Linked DNA regions of Homo sapiens: regions 2, 3, 4, 5, 6 and 7 are each linked to region 1. Evidence: promoter capture Hi-C in 16 types of primary human blood cells and fetal thymus (Javierre and others, 2016). All regions are on one chromosome and are shown on one strand. Each heading gives the region's core, a stretch centred on a gene start or on the middle of the fragment in contact. The rest is flanking DNA. Distances are from core to core; before and after follow the strand shown.

Region 1 (3,337 bases), core at 147-2,646:
GGCCGGGGGTTGCCGCTCCCAGCGAACCCCTTTCTCCTTTCACTGGCAAACTTTTCGGCCTCGCTCTGACGTCCACTTCTTGGCGCACTTTCTTTACTTAGTTCCCCAACGAGCCCCTTACCGCGTCCCACGCGAACTCCTGACTGGCGCGCACGCACACCTACTGCCGTCCCCGACCGGACCCGGGCGAGGCCACCGCGACCACCGCTTCTCGCCCGCCCTCCTGGGAACGCGCTGCCCTCCTGCTCCGCACCTTCAGGCCGAGCAAACCTGCACAGCTGCGCCCTCGCCTGACCCACCGCGCCCCCAAGGTCCGGCCGCGCGCCGAGTCCACTCACCTTCCAGCCCGCCGAGCTGTTGCTGTCACCCTTATCCTTGAAGTAGGGCACGCTCTTGACCATCCACTCGTAGATCTGCGACAGCGTGAGCCGCTTCTCCGCCGAGCTCTCGATGGCCTTGGTGATGAGGTCGGCGTAGGACAGGTTGCCCCACGCGTTGCGGCGGGACGAGCTGCTCTTGCGCGGCTGCCCCGCGAGCGGCCCAGCGGCGGCGGGGGGCACCGGCGGGTGCTGCGACAGCGGCCCGGGCGGCGGGGGCTGCGGTGGCGCTGGGTGCAGGCAGCCCGCCTCCGGGCCCTGGAAGTCCCCGCACAGCCCCCCGGTGGCGGCCGCGGCGGCCGCCGCCGCCACCGCCGCCGCCACGGAGCCGGGCGCCTGCGGGAAGTCCTCGCTCTCCTCCAGCAAGCTCAGGTTGCTCATGAAGTCGGCGCTGACAGCGGCAGCCGAGGCCGAGGGCAGGCCCGCCGCGGCGTCGGGGTTGGCAGCCGCGCTGCCCGACGGCGCCGGGCTGGAGGTGGCCGAGTTGGACTGGCTAAACTCCGGCCTGGGCAGCGGCCAGGTGCACGAGCGCGGCCGGGGCAGCGGCTCGAAGTCCGGGTCGATCTCCACCACCTGAGGCGCCTCGGCCATGGTGACCCCCGCCCCTCCCCCAGCCGCAGGAGAGCCAAGAGGGGGAGAACGCAGCACTGGGGGCGGACGGGGAGGGGGCGCGAAGGGACGGTCCGAGATTTGGGGGAACGAAGCCGGTGCGGCGAGCGGACGGAAACTGGGAGGAAGGCGCGGCGGAGTGGAAGCGCGAGCCCAGAACTTAACTTCGCGGGGCCATCCACATCGAGGCTCCTCGGGGTCCGCCGCACGGACTGGACGGCCGGCCAGAGCCGCCGGGCCGGGGCAGAGCCTGCGCCGCGCTCCAGCTGACAGGGCCGCGGACGGAAGGACGGACGGACGCCGCGGGCCGCTTGCTCTCCCCAGCGGCGCGCCCGCTGCGCTGCTGCCTGTTGAATGTGGCGGCTGCGGCAGCGGCTGCTGCGACTACCAGGCCGCCCGACTTACGGGATCTGCCGCCGCCCCCCGCCCGCGGCGGCGCGCGCGCCGGCCCGCCCCTGACCGACAGCCCGCGCGGCCAATGGGCATGCGGCACCGCCGCCCGGGCAGCCAGTGGGCGCCGGGCTGGGTGGGGCCCGGTTTTCCACGGGGAGGCGGCGGTGGGCTGGTGGGGGGTAGTGGGGTGTTTTTCTCTTTCACACACTCACCTCCTTTTTTTTTTTTTGGATCTCTATTATTTTCTGGTAATTCTCGAGTGTTTCTGTGATTCTCTCGCCTTCTCAGTGTTTTGATTGCTAGGAAGCAAACCAGCGTGGAGGCGCCGGCGACACTTTGTTTACTACGGAGCAGCAGAGCCGAGTACTCGGGAAGCCCGGGTGGGAGGAGGCGCTCGCTGCTCCCTGACCTCCGCTGCGGGCCGAGCCCGGCGGGCTGGCAGGGCAGGGGGCCGAGGGCCGGGGGCGCGGGGTGGGCGGGCGGAGGCGGCCGCGAGGAATTCTACTCAATCGCTCCCTCCTGGCTCCACCCACGATGTCTTTGCTGAACGACGTGGGGAATCGGTGGGTTTTGTTTTGGTTTAATGTTTTCTTTCGCTGCGATCTGTCAAGTCCTCCGGCCCCCTCGCGAGCGGCACACGCCCCCCACCCCCGGCGCCGCGGCTCCTGCAGTCGAGTCCGCGCCGAGGGACCCTTCTCCGTGCCCACCGGTCCGCACCCCCGGGCTCAGCCTGTGCCATTCGGTCTAGCCAGAGGCGCGTCACCCAGCCGGCAGCCCCCAGCCGGATTCACTGTATTCTTGACCTTTTTTAAAATGCTAGAAATGAGGAACAGGGGCTCCGGCGCGGGGAGGAGATTATCTGGCCTCCCTGAACACACGAATCCAAAGGCACCCGCGACCGCATGCCCTCCGTGGGAACCTCTTCCCCTGGGCGGGAATCTCCCGCTCCGTCCACTAAGTCCAGGGCCGGCAGCGAAGGGCTCAGGAGCGCAGTTAGAGAGAACCAGGTCATTTTATTACTTATCCCTAATTAAATTTAGCTGTTTGTTACTTCTTTTTTATTTGCAACGGAAGTGATCGGGTGTTAAGTAAAAACGCAAGGGGGGCGGGAGATAGGACCAAAGCCTTGGGGCGCAGCCTGCCCCACCCCCAAATTCCTTGAGGCTACTTGCTGTGTGTGTCAGTCAACCCCCCACCCACACCCCACCTTTCCTCATCTGGGCTGCAGGTCCAGGACATCCTGTCAAGGATCAGTGGGGCCAAAGGTGGGAAGATAATGGCCCTTGTGTCTCAAGCAGAAGAAACAGTTTTCCAGTTTTGTTTTGTTATGCTTTTGCTTTTTTAGGAAGAATATGGAAGGCATTTCCTTTTAGAAAGATGGGACCACTTAGGATGGAAGATGGACAGTAGGGTTTTAAATATCTTGTCCAAAAGGACAGCTTCCAACTCTTGTTTTTTAATCCCTTTCTTTCTTACAAGTAATTCTGCAATGGAAAAAGTGGCATCTAGAGAAAATTAGTCAGTTGGACAAGAGGTTGTTGAAAAAATAAAAGAGAAAAGAGGGGAAAAAAGGAAAAATTAGGCCTCTTACAAAAGTTAAAAAGATTGAGAGAGATTATCTTTCTTCTTTTATATTCTCACTATCGTCTCTCTAGTCCGGGCTCCTGTTTCTTCATAATCTATTTATCACAACAGCTTCTTGCTGATACTAGGCATGGGTGGGGTGGGGAGCGTGAGCCGGATGGATTGGGGACGGGCGGGGACTGGTTCCCACCCTGGTCTTGTGGTCTCTTCACGTTTACTATCAAATTTGGACAGTCTGGGCCTCCTCTGACAGCCGCTAGGGGACCTCAGTAACTCAGATGATGAGCTCAAAGGCAGGCCCCCAAAGTACAGCTGTTGCTTCCCCCCACCTTTCCAATTACACTCTGCAGAAGCAGCCCCCGATCCAGACAGCC
Region 2 (3,546 bases), core at 865-3,364, 870 kb before region 1:
TGATTAATTTAGTAGTGTTTGTGGTACAGCTATGTATATTGAAAGAACAATGTCTTGGCCAGGTGCAGTGGCTCACACCTGTAAACCCAGCATTTTGGGAGGCCCAGGCAGGTGAATCACTTGAGGCCAGGAGTTTGAGACCAGCCTGAGCAATATAGTGAGATACTATCTATAAAAAAAAAAAAAAAAAAAAAAAAAAAAAAAAAAAAAAAAAAAATTTTTTTTTTTTAATTAGCCGGGCGTGGTGGCACACACCTGTAGTCCCAGCTACTCAGGAGGTTCAGGCAGGAGAATCACTTGTGTTTAGGTGTTCTAGGCTACAGTGAGCTGCGATTGCACCTCTACACTGCAGCCTGGGTGATAGAATGAGATCTTATGTAGAAAGAAACAAAAAACAAAGAAAGAGAGACGGGGGCAGAGAGGGAGGGAGGGAGGGGGGCAGAGAGGAAGGGAAGGGAGGAAGGGAGAGAGGGAAGGATGGGAGGAAGGGAGGAAGGAAGGAAAATGTCTTAATCAGCCATTTCTTTCAAGGGATCAGGGAGGTCAAAAGAATTTTCATAATAGTAGTAAACACCATTTGCTTTTTCATTCTCAGTCTCTCATGAGTGTAGAGTAGTGTTTTCTTGAGGCTACAGGATATGGAATAACATGATGAGTCTGAAAAATAATACGATATGTGGTGATATACTCTTGTGTTCTAAAATTTTCTCAATTTTAATTTCAAATGTGGTAAGTACAGGTAGATATAAGCGCTCCACAGTAGTTTTTAAGATTGTAAAAGGGGTTCTGAAACCAAAAAGTTTGAGAACCACCATCTTAAGTGATGCCTTAGTGGCTCTGGTAAGTAAATAAACATTTAGAAATTATGAAAATTATACCTGCACTTACAGTAGGGCCTGAAATCATTGAAATCTTGCTGCTCATAGTGTAGTCTACCTGGCAGAAGCATCGGCCTACCTGGGGAGCCTGTTAGAAACACAGAATCTTGAGACGATCCCAGATTTTCTGAATCAAAACCTGCATTTTAACAAGAGCTGCATGTGCTTTATGTGCCCATCGTAATCTAACAAGCACTGACTTAAGAGAATTAGCCTTATCAATTTTATTTGTTATTTATTGCCCTACATCATTTTTATCACCTTAATGGAATACGAATCTTCTTGCTTGTTTTTACCCTTCCCACTTTGAGCGCTATCCTATTGTTTAATTTATCCATGTACAGAAGTTTATGATAAATATTAACATTTCAATTTACAGATGGAAAAACTGACAAAAAGCTGGAGAGGTGTGACTATCCCAAAGTCTGGTCAAATGCCAAACTGGGAAGAAAATACAGAGACATTAACTCATGCACTGATGCATCTTGCATTAAAAGATAGGAGATGAGTCCCAAACACACAACATGAAAACTCACCATCATGCAGGCAGGACCTCAGAATTTTTGAATTATAAGAGGCTTAAGGACATTTTCGAACATGAAATAGAGCCACTGGATGATAGCAGATATGAAGGCTTTCTCCTCTGTACTCACACAGGGCTCTGTGTTTTGGCCTACTGCAGCACCGATCATTTGGTATTAAATTACTGGTTTATATGTCAGTTGCCCAAGACAGACTCTGATTCTTAAGATCAATGACTGTGTCTTACTTTTATTTCACATTCAGCATTTACCCCAATACTGGGCACATAGAAAGTGCTCAGTAAATACTTCTTAATTTGCTCAGGCTGCCATAACAAAATACCATGGATTAGGCGGCTTAAACAACAGAAATTTACTTTCTCACATTCCTGGAGGCTAGAAATCTCAGCCCAAGGTACCAGCATGGCTCTGTTGCTGGCTTGTAGATGGCCACCTTATTGCCATGTCCTTACATGGCAGGTGAGGTGGTGGCCTTGGAGAGAGAGCAAGCTCTCATATTTCTTCTTAGAAGGGCATTAATTCCATCATGAAAGCCCCACCCTCATGATATTATCTAAACCTAATTGTCTCCCAAAAGTCCCATCTTCAAATACCATCACATTGGGAATTCAACATATGAATTTAGGAGAATATAAACATTCAGTTCATAACAAATACATATTCAACAAATGAAGAAAAGTAGTTAAAAAGAGAGTAGATTTCAATCAAACTAATAAAATGTAATTGGGAAACTATACAACTTTCTGGAAAGATTGTTGTTAAGCTAATCTATCACTTTGGTTTGAGCTCAAATAAGCTGGAGAGGTTCACCTGAATGTAGCCTCTTGGAGGTTTGTTTCCTTCTTGATTCCAATATTTAAATTTCAAAAATCAATGGTTTACCAAAATGGTTTTCCTAAGTGGTTTATTATATTTAGTAAACAGCCATGCTTTATTTGGGGTATAACTTATCCCAAGTATTTTTACTTTTACTTAGGAAATCTTTTTTTTGGAAATGGAGGTACATGGAAAACAGCAGAAGTAGTAATGAAAAGAGTATAGAAGAAAGAAATAATATGTAAGGTTTTTGTTTGTTTGTGGGATTTTTGTGTTTTTTTTCCTGAAACAGAGTCTCACTCTGTGACCCAGACTGGAGTGCAGTGGCGTAATCTCGGCTTCCTGCAACCTCCGCCTCCCAGGCTCAAGTAATCCTCCCACCTCAGCCTCCCTAGAGGCTGGAAACACAGGCATGTGCCACCACGCCCAACTAATTTATTTTATTTTATTATTATTATAGTTTAAGTTTTAGGGTACATGTGCACAACGTGCAGGTTTGTTACATATGTATACATGTGCCATGTTGGTGTGCTGCACCCATTAACTTGTCATTTAGCATTAGGTATATCTCCTAATGCTATCCCTCCCCACTCCCCCCACCCCACAACAGTCCCCGGTGTGTGATGTTCCCCTTCCTGTGTCCATGTGCTCTCATTGTTCAATTCCCACCTATGAGTGAGAACATGCAGTGTTTGTTTTTTTGTCCTTGCGATAGTTTGCTGAGAATGATGGTTTCCAGCTTCATCCATGTCCCTACAAAGGACATGAACTCATCATTTTTTATGGCTGCATAGTATTCCATGGTGTATATTTGCCACATTTGCTTAATCCAGTCTATCATTGCTGGACATTTGGGTTGGTTCCAAGTCTTTGCTATTGTGAACAGTGCCACAATAAACATACGTGTGCATGTGTCTTTATAGCAGCATGATTTATAATTAAACTAAAGAGCTTCTGCACAGCAAAAGAAACTACCATCAGAGTGAACAGGCAACCTACAGAATGGGAAAAAATTTTTGCAACCTACTCATCTGACAAAGGGCTAATATCCAGAATCTACAATGAACTCAAACAAATTTACAAGAAAAAAACAAACTCATCAAAAAGTGGGCGAAGGATATGAACAGACATTTCTCAAAAGAAGACATTTATGCAGCCAAAAAACATGAAAAAATGCTCATCATCACTGGCCTTCAGAGAAATGCAAATCAAAACCACGGTGAGATACCATCTCACACCAGTTAGAATGGCGATCATTAAAAAGTCAGGAAACAACAGGTGCTGGAGAGGATGTGGAGAAATAGGAACAC
Region 3 (3,264 bases), core at 756-3,255, 960 kb before region 1:
AGTTTGAGTTTTACATTATTCCTTACAGATGATTCTGCCAGGAAAAACAAACAGAAAACCAAATTTTTTTTATCTGAAATGCTTTAATATTTAAAAAAATAAAAGTGTGTAAAATAAGTTGTAATTTGAAATTATTTCAAACATGTTAGTTTGCAGTCCTAAATTTATCTTGGACAATTTTATTGACTTAAAAACTTAAATTCCACATATTGTCAATTACTAGAATGTATGTATTTAGAGCAAAAGGAATGTATATATTTATATATATGTATATACACACACACTTCTTTTATATATATACTCCTTTATATATATATATACTCCTTTATATATATATATACTCCTTTATATATATATATATATATATATTTAAATATATATAGAGAGAGAATGAGGAAATTAGTTTAAAAATATGAGAACTTTGTGTTTGGTTGGCTAGTCTTTATTTTTTGAAAGCAAATGGGCGAAGGGCCTTCTAAGAAGCTACACAACAGAAAATTATAGGACCTTAAATGGAAGATAGCTGAAAGAATAAAACTAAAGTTGGTAGTGGGATGAAGTTGTAGGAACAGCTTTTGGAATTTTTATGGTGCAACCTTTTTATTTTTCTCTAGTAAAAGTCAGAGCACCTAAACTACAGAAGGGATAAAAAGTAAATAGTCACAAGAACAATGAGGACTTTTGTGTATAGCTCTACACATTTAAAAAAAGAGAGGTTCTAATATATGGAATATGAAGTTTTCAATAGCTTAAATGCTTTTTTTAAAAAAATTATTGATTGATTAATTGATTGGGTCAGAGTCTGTCTCTGTCGTCCAGGCTGGAGTTCAGTGGTGTGATCTCGGCTCACTGCAACCTCCTCCTCCTGGGTTCAAGCGATTCTCCTGCCTCAGCCTCCCGAGTAGCTGGGGTTACAGGCATCCGCCACCATCTCCAACTAATTTTTGTATTTTTAGTAGAGACAGGGTTTCACCATGTTGGCCAGACTGGCCTTGATTTCCTGGTCTCAAGCAATCCACCCACCTCAGCCTCCCAAAGTGCTGATATTACAGGCATGAGCCACCATGCCTGGCCTTTAAATGCTTTTAAATGTGAAATTTTTCTGTATACTTCAACTTTGTCACTTAGAAAATATTCAAATTTTGAAATAAGTATTTAATAATAATGACTTGATGTTTAGTATGTACAATAATATAAAGAAGAAGAAGAACAAATGAGCTCACTTTTTTTTTTTTTTGAGACAGAGTCTCGCTCTGTCACCAGGCTGGAGTGTAATGCACAATCTCTCTGCTCACTGCAGCTTCTGCCTCCCGGGTTCAAGTGATTCTCCTGCCTCAGCCTCCTGAGTAGCTGGGACTACAGGCATGCACCACCACACCCAGCTAATTTTTGTATTTTTAGTAGAGACGGGGTTTCACCATGTTGGCCAGGATGGTCTCTATCTCTTGACCTCATGATCCGCCCGCCTCAGCCTTCCAAAGTGCTGGGATTACAGGCATGAGCCACTGCACCCAGCCAAGCTTTATTTTTAACTGCAGATATAGTACCCAAGTCTAAAGTATACAGTTAGTTGAATGTTTGTATTTGCATATGCTCATTAGCTATCACCCAGATAAGATATAAAACATTTCTAGCCCTTCAGAAGGCATCCTCTTTCCCCTTCCCAGTCAATATCTAACCCCGGTGTAAACTGCTGTCTGACTACTGTCTCTTGTTTTGCCTGCTATTAACTTCATGTAAATAGATTCATACAGTGTATACTTTTTTGGCCCTGACTTAACATATCTGTAAGATTCATATATTTTGCATGTTCAGTAGTTCATTTTTTAATTGTTGTGTAGTAATTTCATTATATATATTCACCACAATTTACTCATTCTGTTACTGATGGACATTTGGGATGTTTCTAGTTCTTGGATATTGTAAATAAAGCTATTATTAATAGTCTTATACATGTGTTGGTGGACATAAGTTTTTATTTCTCTTGTATGTATGCCCAGAAATGGAATATCTGGATTATAAGATTGATTAGCTTTACTAGATATTGCTAAGTATTTTTCCAAAGTAATTGTCCTAGATCACTTCACCAGAAATGTGGGAGTTTCAGTTGTTCCACATTCTCTCCAGTACGTGATGTTGTTAGTCTTTTTAATTTTAGGCATTGTAGAAAGTGTGTGGTGGTATTTCATTTGCTTGTAGTTTGCATTTTTCTCAAGATTAATGGTGATGAACAATTTTTCATGTTTATTGGCTGCTGGATGTACTTTCTTTTGAAGTTGTCTTTTAAAGACTGTTGCAGAGAGTCCTTACTGGGTTGTTACCTTTTTCTTATTGACTTATAAGAGTTTTCAAACATGTGTTTGGATACAAGTCCTTTATGGAATAATAAGCATCACAGATATTTTCTATCACTTTTTGAACTGTCTTTTCACTCTCTTAGTCATGTATTAGATTAACAGAAATTCTCAATTTTTAATTCAGTCTTGTATAACAAGCTTTTATTTCATGATTAGTTCCTTTTGTGTCCTGTTTAAGAAATCTTTGGCTATCTCAAGGTCATGAGGACATTCTTCTGTATTTTTCTCTAAGAAGCTTGATTATTTTAGCTTCCACATTTAGGCCTTCAATCCATCTCAAATTTTTGAGTATGGTATGAAGGTAGGGGTCAAGTTTAATTTGTGTGTGTGTGTGTTGTTTAAATTACTTTATTTTCCTTGCTTTCAATTTTTCTTGCCTTTGGCCTTGATCCGTGTCGTAATGTCTGGTAAAATATAACAATACCTAATACCATGTTCTCATAGTAGGTCTTCAACAGATGTTTGATAGATTGAAAAACTAGAAGAGCCTTAGAAGCTAATCTTCTCAGTCATCTTTGTCCTTAGCTACATATGTATTTCTTAGGTTACCTGAGACTTTTATGTTTTTTTCCAGTTAAGTTGATATTTAATAATTGGTTGTCTTAGTACCAGTAGTGTAGTTGCAGGTGGTTTTTGTGCTGCGATGCAGGTATAGCCTTTCTTAAATTAAAGATTCAGTCTGAGTTTGTTGGGGATACTTATCTCGGGTGAGCAATTGATGGGGCTCCGCATTAGAAAGGCAATATATGGCTCAAGGAGAAATCCTGGGCTTTGGAGTCTGATAGAGCTGTACTCAAATTCTAACTTTTCCAATCATTATGACTTTCAGTAAGTTGTCACTATGTAATTGAGTTTTTACTAAATGTAAAACAAAGAATTACGGCACAGTCAACGTAGATTAACCTGC
Region 4 (3,447 bases), core at 599-3,098, 900 kb before region 1:
AAAACTTTCTTAGCACTGACAATTTAATAAGTAAAAATAAATGGTACTAAGCTTACAAAAATTAGCTGAATTGGGGAAATTGTTGATAAGGCCACAAGTATTAACATGTTATACTTGCTTGCTTTGAGGGTATATAGCATCTTTTGGCAAAGTGTTACATTATTGTGAATTTAACAGTGAAAGTTTAAGCCAGTCTAGGATTTCAAAGTTTATAACTTTACTACCAGGAAATTAATTTACTTAAATATGTTCTTTGTTTCCATCAATGTCAACATCTGAAATTCCACTGGAGAAGTATTAGCTTTGGCCTACTAAAAGCAAAATGACAAGAAGCAAGAATGCAAGCCAGCATCAAAAATTGGTCTCCTGTTTTGAGATTGCCCCGAGTCTTTCTGGGGGTATCATTTATATAAGTCTAATTTTCGGGATTCAGGCAAGAGCTGGCCATTGTTGTGCTAGCTGGGCCTCCAGTGGAATGTAAAATGATAATGAAGATTGAACTGAGGTAGAAAAATGAATTTACCTTAGAAAGGACACCAAAGATTTGATTAGTATTCCACATAGTTGCCATACGTATTTAATTGCAGACTAGGAATTTTTCTTGCTTTAAACTATTAGATTCTTTTACAGACAAAGATATAAGCAAGCCAAGCATTAAAAAGCCAAAAAGGTGCTGCTAAAAAAGAAAATAAACCACAAAAACAGAAAGAACATCTCAATGTACCCTGCCTTTATTCTAAATCTTACAAAAAAGAAAATAATTTCTCCACTGAACTATTAATAGGTTAATATAATGAATCATACAATAACAAACCATAATAGAATTTGCATTAACCAAAAAATGTGCAAACACACTACTATGATTTACCAAAAGACTCTCTGCAAGTGGTAAATCATTAGCTCTAGTGTTGCTCTTTGTAACCTCAGGTCTTTGGGGAATGGTGCAGAATTAGTATTGCTTCCTTCTTTCTGTGTGTGATAATGGTGGGGGAAGGCTAGTACCATCTCTGTCATACATCAAATTCCCATATGTGAATAAATTTATGTATTTTTACTGCACTCTTTTTATAGGTTTATTCATTCCTGCACCAACAACGAATGCCATTATTATAACTTTATAGAAAGTCTCAATATATGGCACAGTGCTTCATTTTCTTTTTTTCATCTAGAGTGCCTTAGCCATTCTTGGCTTTCTGCTGTTCCACAAATAGCAATGTAAATTTGTCAGTATAATAGAGAATCCACTTATATTTCTTCAACAGCTATTGGGAATATGGTTGGGATTACTTCAACTCTATGTATCAATTTGAGGAGAATTGATATCTTTATAAGATTAATCCAAATCACAGCATGTCAAAATTTCCTTATTAGGGTAGTTTTAATGTCCTTCAAAAACACTGTAATTTTCTTCATATAGATCTAAGAAAACTTTGGTGTTTATTCCTAAGAAATTTATAGTTCTTGTTTTGTAAATGATATCTATTCTTAAGTTACACTTAAACTTATTTGTTGCTGTATATAGAAATGGAATTGACTTCTATGTACAGCAGTTGCAAACTGATATTCATATGCAGAAAGTGAAACTAGACCCCTAATGGATAAAAGACTTAAATGTAAGACCTGAAAGTATGAAACTACTAGAAGAAAACATATGGGAAACACTTCAGTACCCTGGCCTGGGTGAAGATTTTATGGAGAAAACCTCAAAAGCATAGGCAACAAAAGCAAAAATGGACAAATAGGATTATATCAAACTAAAAAGATTCAGCACAGTAAAAGAAATAATCAATAGAGTGAAGAGACAACCTTCAGAAGATATTTGCAAACTATTCATCTGACAAGGGATTAATATTTAGAACATACAAGGACCTCAAACAACTGAGCAACAACAACAAAAATATCCAATTTTAAAAATGGGCGAAAGAGCCAAATAAACATCTCTGAAAACCAGACGCAAGTGGCCAACAGGTATATGAAAAAAAAAAAAATGCTGAACACCGCTAATCATCAGGGAAATGCAAACCAATACCACAATGAGATATTATCTCATTTTGGCTATTATCAAAAAGAGAAAAAATAACAAATGTTGACAAGAATGCACAGAAATGGGAATGCATATGCTGTTGTAAATTAGTCCAGCCACTATGGAAAACAGTATAGAGATTCCTCTAAAAACTAAAAATAGAACTACCATATGATCCAGCAATCTCACTACTGGGTATATATCTAAAGGGAATTATGGATATGTTGAAGAGACATTTTATTTTTACTCCAATGTTTATTGCAGCACTATTCACAATAGCCAAGATATGGAATCAACTTGTGTCCTTTAACAGATGAGTAGATAAAGAAAATGTGGCATATATACGCAGTGGAATACTATTTAGCCATAAAAAATAACAAAATTATCTCATTTGTGCCAACATGGATAACTTGGAGGACATTGTATATTTAGTGAAATAAGCCAGGCACAGAAATATAAATACTGCATGTTCTCACTCAGGTGAAAGATAAAAACATTGATCTCATAGAAGTAGAAAGTAGAATAATTGATACTAGAGGCAGGGACATGTAAGGAGATGGGAGTGGGGATAGTCAGAGGTTGGTTAATGGATACAAAAGTACAGCTAAATAGTAGAAATAAGTTCTAGTGTTCTATAGCACTGTAGGGTGACTGTAATTAACAACAATCTATTGTATATTTTCAAGTAGCTAGAAGATTTTGAATGTGTCTTACAGAAATGATAAACATTTGAGGTGATGGACATGCTGATTACCCTGTTAGATCATTACACATGGATACATGTATCAAAATATCACACTGTACCCCATAAATAAGTACAATTAAAAAATAAGTGGAATTGATTTTATATGTTGATTATAATAGATCGAGGCACCTTCATAATATTATTTTCCGTGATTTTTCTTTGAGTTTTCTCTATATAGATCTATTTGAGACAAAATAAGAGTTTTTTTTTTTTTTTTCTTTGAAGCCTATGTACCCTTTATTTCTTTTTCTTTTCTTTTATGCTGGCTAGAACCTCCAGCAGAATGTTAACTAATAGCAATGATAATGGTTACTTTTCTTAATTCAGATTTCAGTATCTCACCATAAAGAATTATACTTGCTCTAAGTTTTCAGCAGATAATCTTTATCAGAGAGGAAGTTATTTTGTATTCTCACATGCTGTTATTAATTATGAATGGACGTTGAATTTTAAGTGACTTTCAGAATCTATTGAGATGATCACTTGGCTTTTCTCCTTTATTTGTTAATGTGATGAATTATATTTATAATTTTCCTGGCATTAAATCACTCTTGCATTCCCAAAATAAGCCTAAGTTGATCATATTATTTTCCCTTTCTGTATAAATCACTGGATTTAGTTTTGTATGTTTTTGTATATTTAGTAGCAACCTTGCTAAATTTACTTATTAATTGTAAGC
Region 5 (3,609 bases), core at 641-3,140, 890 kb before region 1:
CATTTCCTTGATACTGAAAAAAGGGTAGTAGGGAATGTATGTTTGCTGCGGCCAGTGGGGTTATGTCAAATAATGGTTACTTACTGACAGCAGTCTAACAGTTTCTGGGAAGACTAATGTGCTCCTAACTGCATATGTGGGAGAGAAACAAGAACTACCCATTTACTGAATATCCACTCTGTGCAAAGCCCAGTGCCATGGGCATTAACATTCATGGTATCAGCAAGGTGGCAGCAAAGAGTCAATCTTCTGAGAGTTAAGCAGTCCTAATCAACACATTATAGGAAATAACTATGTGCAGAAGTTATCCTGTCTAAGAGATGAGTTACTTATATTTTCCTCCCAGCCTAAAAGGAATAGTTTATAAAAAATAGTTAATACTTGAGGTTGATAGATTTAATACATATCCAATTTGGGTAAAGTGACTATGGTGTATTCTCAGGACAGGAAGGACCCTAAAGGATGCTATAATCTGACTAATTATAATTGTAACAGGCTTCTCTGAAGTAATGTGTAATGGAAAGGTAGTGTCTGCCTAGAGCCTAGAAAAGGCAGCATAGGGCAAAAGGCCTTGACCAGCATTAATTCATAACAACCAATGAAAGAAGGGACTATGTAGCTCATGTGCATTATTGATTTCTAAGTGTCTAAAAACACATCAGAATTTGCTGCAGCTTAGATAAAACATTTACTGAACATGTATTGCCAGAATGTGAGCTTATTGATAATCTCCTTAGTATCAGGAGAGGATATAGCAGTAACGTGTAGATTCTGCCTTCAGACCCCCCTGGATTGGTATCTTGACTTTGCCACTTAGAAGCTGTATTAGTTATCTGTGAAAACAGAACAAATTATTCAAACTTAGTTATTTAAAACAATATTATTTCACAGTTTCTCTAAGTCAGAGATTCAGAAGTGGCATAGTTGGGCAGTTTTGCCTCAGGGGCTATCATGGTTGTTGTCATCTGAAGGCTTGACTGGGGCAGGAGGGGAGCCACTGCCAGGGTGGCTTATCCACATGGCTGACACGTTGGTCTGGTTTTGGTCCTCCCCTTGTGGGCCTCCACACAGGCTGCCTGAGAGTCTTCACCACATGATGCCTGGCTTCCTTGAAAGTGAGAAATCCATGAGAATGCCAGGTAGAAGGAGTAGTGTCTTACATCCTAGCCTAAGAAGCATATGCCCTCACTTCCACCATATGCTTTTTATTAGAATTGAGTCTCTAAGTCTGGTTCAAATCAAGGGAGAAGGAAAATTATACTCCACTTTTTGAAGAGAGGAGTGTCAAAAAATTTGCATGCTACTGTAAACTGTCACACTGCGTGACCTTGAGCAATCTATTTAAAAGCTTTATGCTCCAATTTTTTCACCAGTAAAATAGAAATGACATTAGTATCTGCTTTATAGAGTTGTAAGGATAAAATAAATCAATGTAAAGAGCTTAAAACAGTGCAGGGTGTATGGTAAGTGCTTTCAGTAAGATTAGCAATGATGCTGATTACTAATTCTATTCTAAGTCTGTTTGACCTGTGATAGAGCTAATCCAGAGACAAGAACAAAAGATGCTGGCATCAGTCACGTGTGTCTCTTAAATCGATCATTCCTATAAGCAACGGTGTTATCTCCACATCATCCTATTGGGCTTTGCAGAACCTGGATACTGTTTTGCCTAGGCTGCAGATCCAGGACAGGCAGCATGCATTCTTCTGTGTCACAAAGCCTTGTTTTTCTTTTCTCATCAGAGGAAGTGGTCTGGAAAAGTGCCAGCCAGGCTATGTGACTTCTCAGGTTCAACATCATGGAGATGAGAAAGACCAAATGGCACCCAGGGTCCTGCTGAAATCAGAGGCATAAATCTCAGCTGCAGGCATGAGGAGCAATTCAGGAACCCTTGAATAGATCCTTTCAGATTCTTAACGTGGCTTCATTGAACGAAGACCTCTCCAGGGTTCTGTCCTAAAGTCACCTCAGAAAGCTGTGTCTCTGACATCACAGGAAGGGGACCCAGGGCCAGAAATCACTTCAGCATCATTCACCTCAATTTCACCTCTGAGAATTGAGGTATCATGAACAAACGTTACAAGAATGCTCAAGAATCTGGCTACCAAATAGTCCATAGAGATATTATCCTAGATTAAATAAAATTAAGAAACATTTATTAGGCACCTACTCTAGGCAAGTCACAGTATTTCTTAAATTGGAAGAAACTTGCTGATGGATGAAGAATGAATAGAATTTTAACCCATGCAGGACTTAAAGAAAATAATTGCTATCTGCTCCAGTCAAAGTCCACAGTGACATTCCAAGAACATGTGTCAGGAAATTGACTGAGAAAAGAGTTTTGAATTTTTGACTTACAAATGCATTGAGTTCGAACTAGAAACCAAAATCTACTTTTTTGCCTACTTTTCTCAAGTACAGCCGTCACACCAACAAGCTTGCTTTCAAAAAGGGAAAAGAAGATGTTTGATAGGATCAGAATATCCCAACTCCTGATATCTGACCAAATTAAATTTAAATGTTCAGAACTTTGCTTTTGAATATATAAAGCAACATGATGGCTGGCACCAAGGAAGGCAAGACCACCAGTAGTCTAAATGTTACCCTCAGGCATGCATGCCCTGGCAGCTGACCCTTCCCTGAAAGAAATGTCCCTTCTATTCAAAGACAATGTCTGGGGTGAAGTAATTTATTAATTTATTAATACAAGAAGTAAAAAATACTATTTTTGGCCTAATATCCATAATAATATGGAAGAAATGACAAAAGAAACCCCATGGGTTCTCAACGTATTACACTTTCAGCCAACTTAATAGAAGACTTGGCTTTAGGATAAATGCTTGTATGTTTTATAAACACTCCTATTATTTAGGGAGGTCTGAGGGCATCTGGACATAGAATATTATTTTCAAGTTATAGCACATAATTTTTCAGGCAAAACTTACCCTTCAGAATGGAATATGAGCCATTTAATTTCCCCTTGTGTTTAGTCATATGAAAAAATGCCACACAAGGACCCGGGCAGAGAAACAAAGATAAGAGCTAGTCTTTTCCTTGCACAAAAATCTGCACGAGGAAAGGCGATGGCTCTCGTTACTGTGCACAGATGCGTGGCTGTGAACTGCATAGCTTTCTTTTCTTCTTGGAAAATGGCCTCAAATTAGTCTAGGACATTGGATGAACTGTTGCTAACTAAGTAAAAAGTTCATTACTCTCTGCAACTCTTTGCATGAATGCCATTGAGTTATATCAACGGTTCTGAATTCTTTTTTCTCCAAGAGCCCCATTTGGCCTCTAAATCTCTTTCACAACTCCTCTCCCCTTCTTAAAGATGTTTCCTATTCACTGTGAGACTCTCATCCAAGGAAAATAAATGGAGGTGAAGGGCCTGGGGGTGGGGACAAGGATGCAGAGGGGAGCTGTTTTAGAGAAGAGAAGGGGAGGTGAGAGCTGCTACCCACATAATACATGGGCGCTTATTAGAGGGCTGGAGGACTCTTTTTTGGCAAACATCAAATTAGGTCCAAGCATTCATCCCAATTCACTGGAACATGCAAAATCAGTTGACAGGTTAGAGAAGAGAGGTTTTTAAAAGTTAACATTTGTTTT
Region 6 (3,681 bases), core at 654-3,153, 1.0 Mb before region 1:
CCAGCACTTTGGGAGGCCGAGGTGGGCGGATCACGAGGTCAGGAGATCGAGACCATCCTGGCTAATGCGGTGAAACCCCATCTCTATTAAAAATACAAAAAATTAGCCGGGCGTGGTGGCGGGCACCTGTAGTCCCAGCTACTCAGGAGGCTGAGGCAGGAGAATGGCATGAACCAGGGAGGCAGAGCTTGCAGTGAGCTGAGAACGCGCCACTGCACTCCAGCCTGGGCGACAGAGCGAGACTCCGTCTCAAAAAAAAAAAAAAAGAAAAGAAAAGAAACAATACAGAGATCCAAGGTAGCCTTTACCTTGTTTCTGCCAAAGGTAACATTTTACAGAACTATAGTATGGTACCACAACTAGGATAATGACCTTGATACTATCTACCTGTCTTATTCAGATTTTGCAGTTTTACTCGTTGGTGTATTTATTTTTATACATTTTATCATTTGTAGATTCCTGAATGCGCCACCATAGTCACGATATAGTACACAGTTCCATCACCACAAATAGTGTCCTGTTGGTGGGTGGACAGTGTGAGAAAAGTTGCAGACTAAGCCCATGTGGGAGATGGTTGACTCTGCAAAGCAGCCAGCTCTGTGAGGAAAGGCAGTGTTAAATTTCTTTATCAGAATTAAGCCTGTGCCTTCACCATAAAATTAGATTGCATTTTATAACAGTTCTTTTGAAAGAAAAGTTTCCTAGAAAAACACATTCCCTGTTAGAGACCTTGACATTAATTTTTCTCTAAGTTAATGCTGAACACAAAAACAAGCATTACTTTAATTGAAAATTGTGATTAAAACTAAGAGGATAACAGATCAATAATCCTGTATGCAAAGCCTTTTTAAACTTTTCCTGTTCTCAGTTAAATCTTTTTGTTTTAATTTTTAGTGTAATAGGTATTACAGTTGTTTGCAACTAATCGTTGATTTGATTGTCTCTGTTTCTCCTAAACTGTGAGCTCCTTGAGAAAAATGACAATTTCTTATTCTCCTTTTTGTATTTGCAGTGCCTGCTATTTTACAGATTCAATAAATAATTTTTGAGTAAATGAATATGGAAAGCAACTATAATGTTAGGAAAGGAACATAAAACTGAAAAATAAGCATTGTATTGGAGCTTGTAATATGGGGCTCTAAATAATGTATATAGGAGACAATATTAGAACATTGTGCTTCTGTTCATGTGTTCTCAAAACTATTTAAGCAAGGTTTATGTTTATTATTTTAGTAAGCCTGTGGAAGTGTTTTGGCCTGATATGCTTTTGGGAAGTGAAAATTTATGACATTCTGGTATCCCAAGAGCTATAGATATGATGTGCCAAGTGAACGTTTGTGTGAATGTATTTTAGGAAAATTGCAAGGCAGAAATTATGATAACAGGTCTCTGGGGGCTGGCAGGGAGTTGTTTTTTCATTTTAAAATATCTTTTTAACAAGAAACTTTGTTAAACAAGCAGTTAGCTTTAGAAATAGAAATCTGTTTCTATATGGGATTATTTGAATAATACGATACTTTTATTCAGACAAATGTATGAATGATATGAATATTTTTCCAACTGAGTGAGAAGGAAGTCAGTCGTCAGGACAGCTGAGATGCTCTAATAGATAAAGCTTAATGTAGAATTTTATTCACAGGACTGCAGGTTAGCATTTCCCCTTAATAGTTCATTGGTAGTCAGACGATGGGCTTCACTGATAATCAGGAAAGACTATATGTACATGAACATACCTTTGTATTTTTAAAATACTACTAAAATCACTATTATATTTTTATTATCTCTTATAAAGGCCCACCAGCCAGAATTCTCTCTGGACTCAGAAAAATAATCTCTGGAGAATGTTTATGTGTGTGTATTTTTTTAAGTTCAGTATGTTAAAATGGAAAGAATATAGGACTTAAGACAAAAATCTGAATCTTAATCGAAACCTTGGGTAAGAGATTATTAGATTTTTGATTTTGTACAGTTATTTCTTAACCTCCCTTAACCTAAGTTTCTATGTCTGAAAGAAGGAAGGGGAAAATATCTATGTCATGGGGTTTTTGAGATAACTAAATTATTTACGTAAGTTGCTGAAGACACTGCATGGCATACATTAAAGACTGTTGCCCCTCCCTAGTCCTCCCCTTTTATTAGACAAAGAAATCTATGTCACTCATCTTATTTCTATTTTTGCTCTGTCATCTAGGAAGCTTAGAGCTATTTTGTGCTTAATTGCAATAGCTTTCCTCAGATGTATGATTTACTTTCTCAGCCTTTCCCTTTATTTCTTACTATTTTAGTTTTTAATAGTTTTAATTTATTTTTATTGCATTGTAAACTACTTTAACTCAGGTTTTGAAATTGGTAGCATAAAAATATAAAACTTTATCTTGCATAAATGGTTTTATATTGCATGTAAAAGTATATTACAGAAGCGTATGTGGCACATTTTCTTTCATTACCTAATAAAAGGTTAGGGGAAAACAGGGGAGCATCACATCTCCTTTCTTCTTTCTTCTTGTCTCATTTGTACATAGTAGCAGCTATCCAAAAGGAAATATTGCCAGTGACATGCAGGAGCCTGACTGAGATAAGCTATAACAACTTTATTTCAGTCACACATATTGGACTGGAAATAAAAATTTGGGGGTAAGGCACAGTATGGCTTATCCATTTCTTGTGATTATGATCATGCTGTAAGGGAAATAGTATGAGGAAAAATTTAGAAATAATCTTTGGTTTAAGTATTTTAAAAGTTGGGTTTGGAGATGGTATGGATTTTTTTAAATGAAAATTTTGTCTGATCAAATTTTCCCCACCAATGAAAAAGAGCTTTTTTTTGCGTAACATTTTTTCCCCACCAATACAAAAGAGCTTTTTTTTTTCTTCCTTTTTTTTTGTGGGCACGCTTCATTTAAAGTGGCTATTGCTGTTTATTTCCTGATTTAACTACATTTATCAACCAGGTAGACTTTTTCTATATTCTTATTCATTCTACCTGGAATTCCATTTCCCAAAATTAATTTGTTGAAAACTCATTTGTCATTTTAGGTTCCCTGTTGTTTATGCCCATCATATATTTCAAAATATTTTACAAAACTTAAGAATTTTAGGCTATCATGTATGTGTATGTTTGTGTCACACATGCATGTACATGTTCCTTGAGAATGTATATATGTATGTACCTATATATGTTTCAAAGAAAGTCTTGCTTACTTTAAAAAATACTTCAGCTTATAGGAAATTTATTTCACCTTTGTACTTTACAGTTTTATTATATATTTTCCATGTTCAGCCAGGAACCTTTACTCAGTCACCAGAAAAAAAAATAATTAGTTCCTTCTTTGTACTCCCACAACACATTATTCTTCTAGCACTTATTTTCTGCCCTATGATTTCTCAACAGTGCTGGACGTTATGGTCTTTGACTATTTTAACTGGATAGCAAAGGCAGTGTATTAATGCTCTTTGTACCCACTCCTTTCTACACAGAAAACTTTTCAACTGAATATGTCTACATGGTTACTTTAACATTTTAAATAGTTACAGCTGACATTGCCTGTTAATATTTGAGACTCTTACTTTATAAGAGTAATAGCAAGTGTGCATATATACTTAACTAAATGTTATTAAGGAGTGGAAAGTATCAAGCTGGAAGAATGTATTAGATGCCTTTTAAGCTGTATTTTGTACAGT
Region 7 (3,435 bases), core at 936-3,435, 980 kb before region 1:
GTTCACGCCATTCTCCTGCCTCAGCCTCCCGAGTAGCTGGGACTACAGGCGCCCGCCACCTCGCCCGGCTAATTTTTTGTATTTTTTAGTAGAGACGGGGTTTCACCGTGTTAGCCAGGATGGTCTCGATCTCCTGACCTCGTGATCCACCCGCCTCGGCCTCCCAAAGTGCTGGGATTACAGGCGTGAGCCACCGCGCCTGGCCAATTTGGAAGATTTTAAGACACATTTAGAAGTTGAGTAGGAAAGTAAGTTTTTAAGACCAGATGATTAGAACAAGATGAATGCTAAAAAAGAGAAAATTGGCCTTTCATTAAGTAATTATTTTCAAAGTGGTAGTTTCCTTACATTTAGGGAAAACTTAATAATGTATCATGTTAACCACCAGATGGCACTATATGAACTTAATAAGTAATGTATAAAAGTTTCACTGTCCATTATTGTGTCTCAAATAATGTAAGTATTATATACAAGAAAAATGTCAATTATTGAAATCCGTGGGGAAAGTTGCCATACTCAGTGTTTCTTATGTGGTGTATAACTGGAATGCTAATGCATTATTGACTTTTAATAATAAATCATGTACAATTATAAATGAAGTGAAAAAATTTGATAATTTATTTTCTTTGGTAAGCCTTTAGAATATAAGTTATTTTAAAATGTAGTAATACATACAATGCTGATTTTTCTTCCTTCTTTATGTATTTGTTGTGTTTCAAAGAGGCACTTCTTTACTATTATCTTTTAATTTGCTTTTTGATAAAAATTTTTCTTCTTTTAATTTGCTTTTTGACCAGAATTTCTTTAACTGTAGCTAAACACAATTTTTAAAATGAGACTTTTAATTTTAACTTGAGGTATTTGAGAATATTTACATAATTTGAACATTCACTCTGAAAAAGCTCCATTTTGATTTTTGATTATTGTTGGAAGAATGTCTGATTTTGGTCAAAGACTTTTTCTTCTGTCTCTGGGAAGGATGTTTCATGTCTAAAGATATTGAAGGTTCACGTGGCTTATGCTGTTTTTGCTTTAAATTATATTTGTTCTATAGGAGGATTGACATTAATATTAATGTTTATTGATATTTTATAGTATTGAACAGATGAAATTCCAGTGTTTGCCAGGCTTGGTAATTTACCCCCTATTTAAAATACACTGGATTTTAAGATTCACTGGATTCTGTTACAGCTGTCGTCCCAGTGGACAGTCCTAGAAACAAATTATGCTGTTTATTTTTAATATAGTTAGTAGGGTCTTGGGAATGAGGATTAGCTATATATACTTAAAAAGTTAAACGTTTGTGAATTTTATGCTGTGATAAGCAGTCATAAGTTCATTATTTCAGAGAATCAGGTGATCATTTAAAAGAAGGCATTCTTCACACTAAATGGATTAATAATTTAAGAGCATGAGGGAAAAAATAGCAATGAGCATTTTGGTTCTAATTTGTTTAAAAAATAGTAAATGCAAGGCAATTATGCAATTTAGCAAAACTTAGCTGGATATTGCACTTCCCCTTTTCTGTAGTATGTCACCACAGGGAATCTCAAAACCATTTCTTTTTAATGGAAGACAAACCCACAAAGAACCATAGTCTGGTTAATAGTAAACAGTCCTCAAAAAAGGTTCATATTCCTAAATATTTATAGCTATTTGCCAGTTCTACAGACTTTCTCTTTGATTTGGAAATAAACCGTCTTTCACATGTTTACCAAAATGTGGATTTTTCATCCAATTAACAGCATATGAAAGAAAGCTATGTAGCCTAAGATATTAATTATTTTGGGTATCTTGGGAAGTTTTGGTAATTTTTGTTTATATATAGGTTATTGACATAATTCTTAAAATTTAGTATGGTAGAATACTGTTTAGAGATTTAAAAGTTAGTCTAGAATCTGCTGACATCAAGACTGCTAAAATATATTTTGTTTTTCTTTATACTTTTAAAATGGAAAGAACTTTCAATTGAGGGATGGATGTCAGGAATGGTGGTGATAATGGAAAACAAGGCTGAGTCAAGTCAAAGAAATGGGCACTCCAGAGAGCTCCAGGCCATTTTTATAAATTGAATCCCAAATTGTCCTATTCCCCAGTTAAAAGCTTTCCTTCCCTACCAGTTCCTTCACCTTAGAAAGCCTTTCCATGCCTTTTCAATTATAATAGGTGACTTCTTAATACATGTTTTTTAAAAAGGTATTTGCTTGTATATGTGTTTGGTCAGTAAATTTAAGGAACATCTGTTATGTCTAATATTGGAGTCAAAATAAGCTTTTAAAGATGGATAGCAATTTTTGGAGCAAATTTTGGTGATAGATTGTGATAGTATGTGTAAAGAAGACTTTTTTAATGTAGAAGAGAAAAATGTCAATTTTGGGATTGCAGAATTCTTTTATTTTTTCTGAGACAGGGTCTTGCTCTGTGGCTCAGGCTGGAGTATAGTGGAGCAGTCACTGCTAACTGCAGCCTGAACCTCACGGGCTCAAGTGATCCCCCTACCTCAGCCTTCCGAGTAGCTGGGACTATAGGCATGCACCACCATGCCTGGCTATTTTTTTTTTTTAATAATGAGAAAGGGTTTCATTATTTTGCCCAGGCTGGTCTCAAACTCCTGGGCTCCAGTGACCACCTTCCTCGGCCTCCTAAAGTGCTAGGATTGCAGGTGTGAACCACCGCACCCAGCCTTGGATTTGCAGAGTTCTAATTATAATCAGTTTTTGAGAACTGTTATGGCTTTACGTAAAACAGTAGAGCATCATGTTTTAGACTGCAAATATGTATACTGAAATATACCGAAACCTAGTATAGTGAATATACTGAAACCTAAAAAGTTAAGTCTTCCCACCTTGGCTTGATTTTCCTACTTTTACTAAGTCCATTGCTTTATCCCTTATTACTGCTGCCTCTGCTTTAGTCCCAAATCCCAGCATTGTTTCTTAGGAGGGGTAAAAGTTTTTACTTTTTGATTGAATTTTCAATGAGCTGAAGTTATCTCTTAAATATTTTTTTCTTGTTTGAAAGCAATGTTGCTTGACCGAATATCTAAAGGAGCTTTAAGTGCTTTTTAAGTACTTGGTTGTCTCAGAAATTGCGTGAATAGTCTGATATAGCCACTAGAAACAACCCCAACCATTTTTTATATAACTTGTTTCTTCTAGATATACCTTAGATGAATTTGGAACAGCCAGAAGAAGTACAGTTGTTCGTGGATTTATTGATGCGCTCACAAGAGGGGGCCCCGGAGGTACACCTAGACCAATTGAAATGCATTCTCATGACCCTTTGAGGTATAGTAATCAGACAGCAGAAGAGGAGTTGATGTTTTTCCAAAGGAAATCTTCATTAACATTTAGTTTTCATTAGGTATGTAGGAGATATGTTGGCTTGGCTCCATCAAGCTACTGCTTCTGAAAAGGAACACCTTGAAGCTCTCTT

The links. Contacts are between HindIII fragments. The CHiCAGO score rates a contact against its expected background, and 5 or more counts as called.
Region 2: a fragment that was not itself captured here is called in contact with the fragment with the promoter of FOXO1 in region 1 in 2 of 17 cell types (naive CD4 T cells and M1 macrophages); the score reaches 5.9 in naive CD4 T cells.
Region 3: a fragment that was not itself captured here is called in contact with the fragment with the promoter of FOXO1 in region 1 in 6 of 17 cell types (M1 macrophages, erythroblasts, total CD4 T cells and 3 more); the score reaches 7.9 in M1 macrophages.
Region 4: a fragment that was not itself captured here is called in contact with the fragment with the promoter of FOXO1 in region 1 in 1 of 17 cell types (total CD4 T cells); the score reaches 5.3 in total CD4 T cells.
Region 5: a contact is called between a fragment that was not itself captured here and the fragment with the promoter of FOXO1 in region 1, in 8 of 17 cell types (naive CD4 T cells, endothelial precursors, total CD4 T cells and 5 more). The highest score is 14.7, in naive CD4 T cells.
Region 6: a contact is called between a fragment that was not itself captured here and the fragment with the promoter of FOXO1 in region 1, in 1 of 17 cell types (fetal thymus). The highest score is 7.3, in fetal thymus.
Region 7: a contact is called between a fragment that was not itself captured here and the fragment with the promoter of FOXO1 in region 1, in 17 of 17 cell types (naive CD8 T cells, fetal thymus, total CD8 T cells and 14 more). The highest score is 25.3, in naive CD8 T cells.

What each region holds. Positions count from the first base shown.
Region 1 is chr13:40,665,245-40,668,581 of GRCh38, forward strand. FOXO1 (forkhead box O1) reads right to left here and starts at 1,397. Exons shown (of 3, transcript NM_002015.4): 1 at 339-1,397. The coding sequence starts at 968. RefSeq lists silencers at 1-25, 546-595, 686-825, 1,056-1,585 and an enhancer at 2,236-2,285. The HindIII fragment of the contact is 11,472 bases long and covers 1-3,337 here.
Region 2 is chr13:39,796,203-39,799,748 of GRCh38, forward strand. No RefSeq gene overlaps it. Among named protein-coding and RNA genes, the nearest start is that of MIR4305, 130 kb to the left of the region's middle. The HindIII fragment of the contact is 5,023 bases long and covers 1-3,546 here.
Region 3 is chr13:39,705,910-39,709,173 of GRCh38, forward strand. The region is part of intron 13 of COG6 (component of oligomeric golgi complex 6); the gene reads left to right. Among named protein-coding and RNA genes, the nearest start is that of MIR4305, 43 kb to the left of the region's middle. The HindIII fragment of the contact is 975 bases long and covers 1,519-2,493 here.
Region 4 is chr13:39,759,793-39,763,239 of GRCh38, forward strand. It overlaps a transcript of COG6 not described here. Among named protein-coding and RNA genes, the nearest start is that of MIR4305, 97 kb to the left of the region's middle. The HindIII fragment of the contact is 3,599 bases long and covers 50-3,447 here.
Region 5 is chr13:39,777,773-39,781,381 of GRCh38, forward strand. It overlaps a transcript of COG6 not described here. Among named protein-coding and RNA genes, the nearest start is that of MIR4305, 120 kb to the left of the region's middle. The HindIII fragment of the contact is 1,089 bases long and covers 1,347-2,435 here.
Region 6 is chr13:39,668,537-39,672,217 of GRCh38, forward strand. The region is part of intron 4 of COG6 (component of oligomeric golgi complex 6); the gene reads left to right. Among named protein-coding and RNA genes, the nearest start is that of MIR4305, 6.2 kb to the left of the region's middle. The HindIII fragment of the contact is 580 bases long and covers 1,614-2,193 here.
Region 7 is chr13:39,684,345-39,687,779 of GRCh38, forward strand. It overlaps COG6 (component of oligomeric golgi complex 6), which reads left to right. Exons shown (of 19, transcript NM_020751.3): 9 at 3,159-3,287; 10 at 3,364-3,435. Among named protein-coding and RNA genes, the nearest start is that of MIR4305, 22 kb to the left of the region's middle. The HindIII fragment of the contact is 168 bases long and covers 2,102-2,269 here.